Linked DNA regions of Homo sapiens: region 2 is linked to region 1. The links are contacts of gene promoters, found by promoter capture Hi-C in human tissues and cell types (Jung and others, 2019). All regions are on one chromosome and are shown on one strand. Each heading gives the region's core, a stretch centred on a gene start or on the middle of the fragment in contact. The rest is flanking DNA. Distances are from core to core; before and after follow the strand shown. Region 1 holds the start of PEX26 (peroxisomal biogenesis factor 26). Region 2 overlaps MICAL3 (microtubule associated monooxygenase, calponin and LIM domain containing 3).

Evidence for each region. The method cuts DNA at HindIII sites, captures the fragments that hold promoters and counts their contacts. A contact is called where the count stands out against the background at its distance.
Region 2: a contact is called between a fragment that was not itself captured here and the fragment with the promoter of PEX26 in region 1, in 3 of the 25 tissues and cell types used here (dorsolateral prefrontal cortex, lymphoblastoid cells and spleen).

Annotation. Positions count from the first base shown.
Region 1 is chr22:18,076,247-18,080,131 of GRCh38, reverse strand. PEX26 (peroxisomal biogenesis factor 26) reads right to left here and starts at 2,142. Exons shown (of 5, transcript NM_001127649.3): 1 at 1,526-2,142; 2 at 118-258. The coding sequence starts at 1,755. It overlaps LOC105372853 (a long non-coding RNA gene), which reads right to left. Exons shown (of 6, transcript XR_001755424.2): 6 at 2,236-2,474. RefSeq lists enhancers at 1,319-1,368, 1,849-2,078, 2,409-2,468 and a silencer at 1,729-1,778. The HindIII fragment of the contact is 17,547 bases long and covers 1-3,885 here.
Region 2 is chr22:17,819,596-17,823,480 of GRCh38, reverse strand. MICAL3 (microtubule associated monooxygenase, calponin and LIM domain containing 3) reads left to right here. Exons shown (of 32, transcript NM_015241.3): 23 at 421-534; 24 at 1,311-1,451; 25 at 1,972-2,054. Among named protein-coding and RNA genes, the nearest start is that of LINC00528, 44 kb to the right of the region's middle. The HindIII fragment of the contact is 4,286 bases long and covers 1-3,885 here.

The DNA of each region.
Region 1 (3,885 bases), core at 893-3,392:
AAAGAATCCGATCTGGAGGGCAATAGTAGGGAAGGGGAAAAGAGTAGGTATTTAGGAGAGGAGATGAAAATCCTCTCGTTTCTGAACCGATCTGATGAGTCAGCAAAGAAGACTTACCACAGCTCCAGGACTTTGGGGGGTAGCTTTTCAGGGACCTGGTAATACTGAAGGACCCAGGAGAGGACTTCTTGCCACCGATCCATTTCTGCCAGGGCCTGGATCCCCACAACACACAGGGAGCACTTCACCTCCAATGAGCTGTCAGCAGAAAAACCAATTTCAGTTAGAAGTGGTTCCCCTCCATTTCCATTCCCACCTCCACCTTGGGACTGTTCCTCTCCAGCTCCCAACTCAGCAGCCATCATCTCTCTCATCCCTGTTAGTATTTAGATGGGCTTCACAATTGGTCTCATGGGCTGCCCTTTCCCCCAGGAACTAAAAGTTCCTGTAACCCTCTTTCAAGAGGCAAGTCAGCTGTTGCTCAACGTTCATCTTTGTATCCAGGTGAAATCAGATTTAAATGAAGAGGAAGGGTAATCCTGAGGGGGAAATAACACACAGCACCGGTGTGTGGCTGAAAAGAGAGCTGGAACTAAGAGTTTGCTCTGTGAACAAATGGGCTTGGAGCAAGGTTTCTGGCTGAGTGGAGGTATAGACTCCATAGCTGGCTAAAAGGCACCACCTAGTAAGGTTCCTCCAGACACCCAGAAGCAAAGCCTTCTGCATTCACTGAAATGAGCTCCCACCCAGTCCCCTAAAACACAGCCAGGGCTCTCCAGATCATCCTTCTTTGTGGTCAACTTTAGCTATTCTACCTACCACCTCCCTAGCGTGGCCTAACCCAAGTTTACAATGCAAAGAAATGACTCCCTCACCTGCCAGACGAGGCTGGTGGCATTAGAAAGAGCAATGCAAGCCCAAGGTTTTTTTCTCCGGATTCTTTTCTTTTTCTTCTTTTTGGTAGAGAAGAGGGCTCATTATGTTACCCAGGCTGGTCTCGAACTCCTGGGCTCAAGCAATCCTCCTGCCTCGGCCTCCCAAAGTGCTGGGATTACAGGCGTAAGCCCCAGCTCCCGGCCCTGAATTAATTCTTTAATCCAGTCCTCTAATTGGACCAGAACGCTGCTCCTGCCATGACCCCCATTCCCCATCATCAGCCAAGGTCAGGAATAAACAACCTTGGGCGGGGCGGGGAGGGCGGAGGTACCTGGGAGAGGACTTTTACCACCTGCTTACTGACAGAACTTAGCACTTAATACACATTCAGCCTTCCCATCATGTCATTGTACCTTGGAACAAGGAGCAAATAATTGGCTGTGGGATCCCCACTAAGTTTTTGTTACACGACTTCCCTTCTCTGTAGAATGGGCACACGATGAGCGACCACCCTCTCGGAGACAAACCACTGATGAAAGCGAGGTGTAAAGCTCCTTGTGGGCAATCTGGGAAGGACAGAACTCCTGAGACCTTGAGCCCCACCACAAGAGCGCCCGGAAATCGGTTCATTTCCGAGCCCAGCACGTACGTGCCCGCGGGTTCCTCTGCCACGGCGTGGTTGGCCAGACTCTGCCAGGCCCGCTCGCAGGTCTCCAGCGCCGCCCGGAAGTCCAGGTGCACCACCAGGAGGTCGGCCGCCTCCTCCAGAAGGTCCACGGCCGGCGCCCGGGCCGGGACCGCGCGCACCGGCTCGCTGCTGCGCAGGGGTCCCCCGAGCCCCCTGAGGGGGGCTGCAGAGGTCGAAGAATCGCTCTTCATAACGAGTCCGGGTCCAAGGCCCAGGTCCTCAGACGTCGGAGTGACCGCCTCCCCAGAGGCTCCGGGATATCCCGAGTTGGCCTGGGCGAAGAGGGAGAGTCCTCATCTCTTTGCCCACACCCCTTCCCGAGGTCGATTCCCCGAGAAGGAAAAGGAAGGGGCCTATCTGAGGCAAAAGCTGGGCTCGCCTGGAGGCTGGGGAAGCAGTTTACACGTCAGATTTGCAGGATTCTTGCATCCCTGGAATACCTGGCCCTAGCTTCTCCGGCCCCGCGACACGTGCAGGAACTGCCTCAGCTCCGGGCTCCTGGTTACGATCAAAGACTCACCTCGCCTCCCGGCAGCGGGCGCGGACATCTTTGCGCTCGCCCAGCCCCGCAGCCGCGCGGCGTCCCGGCGGCGCGGAGTACTCTAGGAGTTGTAGTTCCTCAGCTCTCGGCCCATCGCCTTCTGTAATGGAAGTAGGAGGCAGAGCGCGGACTACAACCCCCAGCACGCCGCGCCCCGGAAGCCGCCCCTGTGCCGTGAGAAAACAAACTGGTGCTACAGCTTCGGGGTGCGGAAGTCAAAACGAAGCAAAACCGAAGCTGTCTTGTGAAATGGAGGGGTCCTCACTAACCAGTTCCAGCGGAGGCTAACGGAAGAAGTGCCAGCAATGGATGTGCAGCTACATGCACGCTTTTAATTCAGAGCTTCTGCGACGGTGGCGATCAGGGGATCTGTAATGTAATGTAATGTCAAGGCTGACGCAGAGCTGATCAAACATTTTGGCAACCTTAGTCTTGAATTGATTCACACTTTCTCCGCGTTGCCTCCGGAGTTTGCTGTAGGGTAATGAATATTGCCTGGTGAGGATGAGGGACTTAGGGTGGAAACCTTCACAAGGACCACTGAGAATATGTTGGTCCCAAGGGCAATGTTCCAAAATGAATAGTGACCCCACCGAGGCGGGGTTGGGGGCGCTGAGCATAAGGGCCTCATTTTTCTCACTGCTCTCTGCCCCATCCTGAATTTGCTGTTAAAAAACAACGTTAAATGCAGATACCAATTCCACTTCCCCACTGTTGTCACTTCCGATCTGTCTTTATATTTCTCCTTATCATTTATCACCATCTACATACCAATGTCTATATTTTACTTATTTTTATTGTCTATTTCCTTCCACTATGATATAAACTCACAAAGGCAGACGTTTTTGTCTCTTTTGTTCACTGTGGGAACCTCAATGCCTTGAACAGTGCCTGTCATCTATAGGTAGTCAAAAAGTATTTGTGGAATAAATGAAGTCCTGGTTTCACTTTTATCTGGTTACAGGGTCCAGACTTCTCTTTCCTCGGAGTCTGGTGGACTTGGTTCTGCCTCAGCTTCCCATGCAGACTTTTCTGCAAGAGAACGGAAATCCCAGAAGATGGATGTGTGCATGTCTGGTGACAAGGGCAGGGGATGTATGATGTGAGCAGGTGCCTGTTTAATCTAATTTCTAGGAGAGCAAAGATTCTAGGGAAGCTTTGGAGTGAATTCAAAGGGTAGAGAACTGGGGAGAAACTAAAGCCAAGAGGATCTAGTACAAATGTGGGAAGCTTGGCAAAGCCCGGGTGAAACAGAATATAATAATAAGTGTGATTTGTGGATCTGTTTAAAATTATTATTATAGTTACAATTTACCAAATACTCTGTTCCCAGTACTTTACTATAAAGTGCATTATGTACGGTATGGTTTTGTTTTTCACAATGTCCTTATTTTACATTGTGTAACTTGCTCATGGAATGACTGTGTATCCCCTGAATAGCAAACATACTTAGTTCTGTCCCTGCAGAGCAGAGTAGAGCTCAATACACATCTTTGAACCAAAAGAGCCTCGGTTTGACTGAGATTTTGTCGCTTACTAGTTGTGTGACCTCGGCAATTTATTTAAATAAGCTCTGATTTCCTCACCTGTAAAATTGGGATAACAGTTTGTCCTTAGCTCCCAATGGCTGAGGGAAGAATTAAGTAATATTGCGCATAAAGCGCCATGCGCATTAAGCACTGAAAATGTGAGCCAGGCCTGGGAAGACGAACATGCTCAGAAGCGGCCAGCTCTAAGCGGCTGCTGCCTGGAAAAGTCCCTTTCCTAACAAATTTCTTGC
Region 2 (3,885 bases), core at 822-3,321, 260 kb after region 1:
CTGCATTATGAGGGCTGAATGACCCATGGTGTGTGAGGCGGTCAGCACACAGCCAGGCTTTGGCAGATGCTGCTGGGCCAAGGCCCAGAGAAACAGCATTTCCCTTTCCACCCTCCTCCAACTGAGGTTCCTACAGCAACCTTTGGGGGAAGAGGAACAATGCCCCCACCTTCAGCCGCTCTTCTCTTCCCACTTGGCCCCTAGCATTGAGAAATGCCCACCTCCTGTGTTTGGGGGCCCCGGGCCCCCCCCAGCACCCATGCTACGTGTGGAGAGCCCCCTGGGCCTGGCAGCATCTCCCCTCTCCTGGGGCCTGCATGGCAGCGCCCTGAGAAAGGCAGTACCTCTCGCCCCCGTGAAGATGCAGCCTGTCTGTCTGTCCTCCTTTTCTTCCTTCCTTTGAACCTTTCTGCTTTGCAGCCCCATTGGATGAGAATGACCTAGAGGAAGATGTGGACTCAGAACCAGCCGAGATAGAAGGGGAGGCAGCAGAGGATGGGGACCCAGGGGACACTGGTGCTGAGCTGGATGATGGTAGGGGTCCGCCCTCCCCGCCCCTGTGGTGGGAGCTCAGGGAAGATGAAGGCAATATGCTTTCCAGCAAAATCAAGCTCAGTGAGGCCGCCGTTGGGCCTCCTGGTTCCTTCTTGGCTCCACCATGGCTGGAATGCATCTCATTCCACCCAACCACCACCTACCCACGAGCACCAGGCGACTTGGCCTGCAGTCATCCAGCTGCAGCTGGGTGCCTGAGCCAACCTGTGGCTTTATACAAGGCCTTTAATTCTGCTGACTGGCTCCCAAAGCTACATACCTGGAGATGGGTTCTGCATCGCAGTCTGGTTGTGGGGGGCTGAGGGGGTCAGGGACGAGGCTGGGAAGAATGAGAAGAACCCAAGCTTGCGAGGGGGCGCAGGCCTCAGCTGTGGAGTTGGGGTGGCAGTCAGGGCTACTGAGAGGAGGAGGTGCATAGAAGTGGGCCCGTGAGGCCAGGCCTGCCCTCCACAGGCACACCCTGTCTTTGTCTGTCGCAGCCCATCATGTGTGACTGTTGCTGTATTTTAAAAGAAACAGAGCCCCACAGGCTTTGATGCGGCCCCGCGTTGCAAAGGCAGGAGGGTGCTCTTGGCCGGGCCCCTCAGGAGCGGGGGTGGTCTGGTAGGCAGGTCTGTCCCTGCGTAAGAAGGGCCTCCAGGCCTGCACCTGAGCAGCTGTGTTGCAAATGAGCAAGTGGCGCGGCTGCTCTCAGGTGGAAAAGGAGTTGGCCTCACTTAGGGTGTGCACCCACTTCTGCCCCTTCCCTCTGCCAGATCAGCACTGGTCTGACAGCCCGTCGGATGCTGACAGAGAGCTGCGTTTGCCGTGCCCAGCTGAGGGGGAAGCAGAGCTGGAGCTGAGGGTGTCGGAAGATGAGGAGAAGCTGCCCGCCTCACCGAAGCACCAAGAGAGAGGTGAGCCTGTCTTTGATGGGAGAAACAACTTTCAGAATTCCTACGAGGGCCATATGCACACAAGAGTGGCTCAGGGGCCAGGCGCTTCAGAGCAGAGCCATGGTGCACACCAGCCTCCGAGGTGTGGGCAGCTCCTTGCCTTTTCCTCCTCTGTCCACCCTCCCTGTGCCACAGGCTGCTGCAGTTGCTTTGGCCAAAGGCCCTTTCCTTGCATAGTTTGGGTCTGGGAGAAGGTAGAAGGTTTGTCCTGAAGCTCTGTGTGCAGAGTCTGCACATGGAGGAAGCCCACGGCCTGACCTGGTGTTGACAGGAGCACCTGCAGAGAGTGCCGGGCAGCCCCGGGAAGACGGTTCCAGGACCCTGGCCTCTGAGAGAACCTGTGCTTTCCAGGAGAACTGGGAGCCGACTCAGCGACTCGCCCTCTACCCTCCCCTCCACCCTCTGGGGCTGGCTGATAGGGGTGCCTTCCTGGCACATGGGGGGGCTTCCTCTTGTAAGTCCCTGTGTTCATTCTTTTCAGGTCCCTCCCAAGCCACCAGCCCCATCCGGTCTCCCCAGGAATCAGCTCTTCTGTTCATTCCAGTCCACAGCCCCTCAACAGAGGTAAGGGTTTGGGGCTCGCTGTGGGGTACAGAGAACTAATGGGACCCCAAGGACACATATTAACTTCTCTGTTTCAGGGCCCATGGTGTGGGTCCCACCAAGACTGGGGCTAACATAGCCTGCTGGCCTCCTCATTCTGAGGAAGACTGAAAACTATCATCCTCCTTGTACTAAGTGGAGCTGTTGATGACAGGAGTGGCCTTGGAGTTCCAGCTCAGTACTCTTGGGGATGAGGCCGTCTGGGTGGCACCTACTACCTCTGCCCCACTCTGATCCCAAACCTGAGTCCTCTACCCCGTGTCACTGTGTTAGGTCCACATACCACACACCATATGTTTAATTTAAACAAATTTATTAAAAATAAATAATTTATTATATTTAATAAATGTATAATAAACATAGGTGTATTAAAATTGTTTATAAATATAAATTTATTAAAATTTATGTTTATAAATATAAATTTATTAAAATTTATGTTTATAAACATAAATTTATTAAAATTTATGTTTATAAATATAAATTTATTAAAATTTATGTTTATAAATATAAATTTATTAAAATTTATTAGAACAAATTTATTTTTTATAAATTTATAATATATTAAAAATAATATAATTTTTATGATAAATGGTATAAAACATTTGATATTTTATTAAAAATAAATTTGTTTAAATTAAAGCAATAATATCGATGGGATGGTTGGTTTGATATGACAAATGCATTTTTAACATTATGTTAAAATAAATGTATAACCATTGAAATTTACAACATCTGGCCAGGCGCGGTGGCTCACGCCTGTAATCCCAGCACTTTGGGAGGCCAAGGCAGGCAGATCACGAGGTCAGGAGATCGAGACCATCCTGGTTAACACAGTGATAGCCTGTCTCTACTAACAATACAAAAAATTAGCCGGGCGTGGTGGCGGGCGCCTGTAGTCCCAGCTACTCAGGAGGCTGAGGCAGGAGAATGGCATGAACCCGGAAGGCGGAGCTTGCAGTGAGCCGAGATGGCACCACTGCACTCCAGCCTGGGCGACAGAGCGAGACTCCGTCTCAAAAAAAAAGAAATTTACAGCGTCCATGCAGACAGCCTGTGGTGTGTGAACCACATGGAGAATGCTGCAAAGCCAACTGTGACAGCAGGTCCTGTGGAACATGGTTTGGGAAATACTGTCTGCAGGTCAGATCAGGGAGAAAGCTGGAATATAAGGCCTGCATCTGCTTGATTTAGTCTTTGGGATTCTAGGAAGCATGGAACTATTCAGTGATTTTTTTTTTTTTTTTTGAGACAGGGTCTCAGTCTCTTGCCCAGACTGGCATGGGCAATAGTGCAGTGGCATGATCATGGCTCACTGCAGCCTCCCAACTCCTCGGCTCAAGCAATCCTCCTGCCTCAGCCTCCCAAAGTGCTGGGATTACAGCATGAGCCACTGTACCTAGCCTGTTCACTGATTGGATTTTTTTTTTTTTTTTTTTTTTTTTTTTGAGATGGAGTCTCTCACTGTCACCCAGGCTAGGATGCAGTGGCGCGATCTTGGCTCACTGCAAGCTCCACCTCCCGGGTTCACGCCATTCTTCTGCCTCAGCCTCCCGAGTAGCTGGGACTGTAGGCACCCACCACCACACCTGCCTAATTTTGTTTTTGTATTTTTAGTAGAGACGGGATTTCACCATGTTAGCCAGGATGGTCTCGATCTCCTGACCTCGTGATCTGCCCACTTCGTCCTCCCAAAGTGCTGGGATTACAGGTGTGAGCCACTGCGCTCAGCCGTCTGTGAAATGGGGAGGCTTTGTTTGAGGCTCTTGGATGGGGTGATATAAGGGCTGGTGCA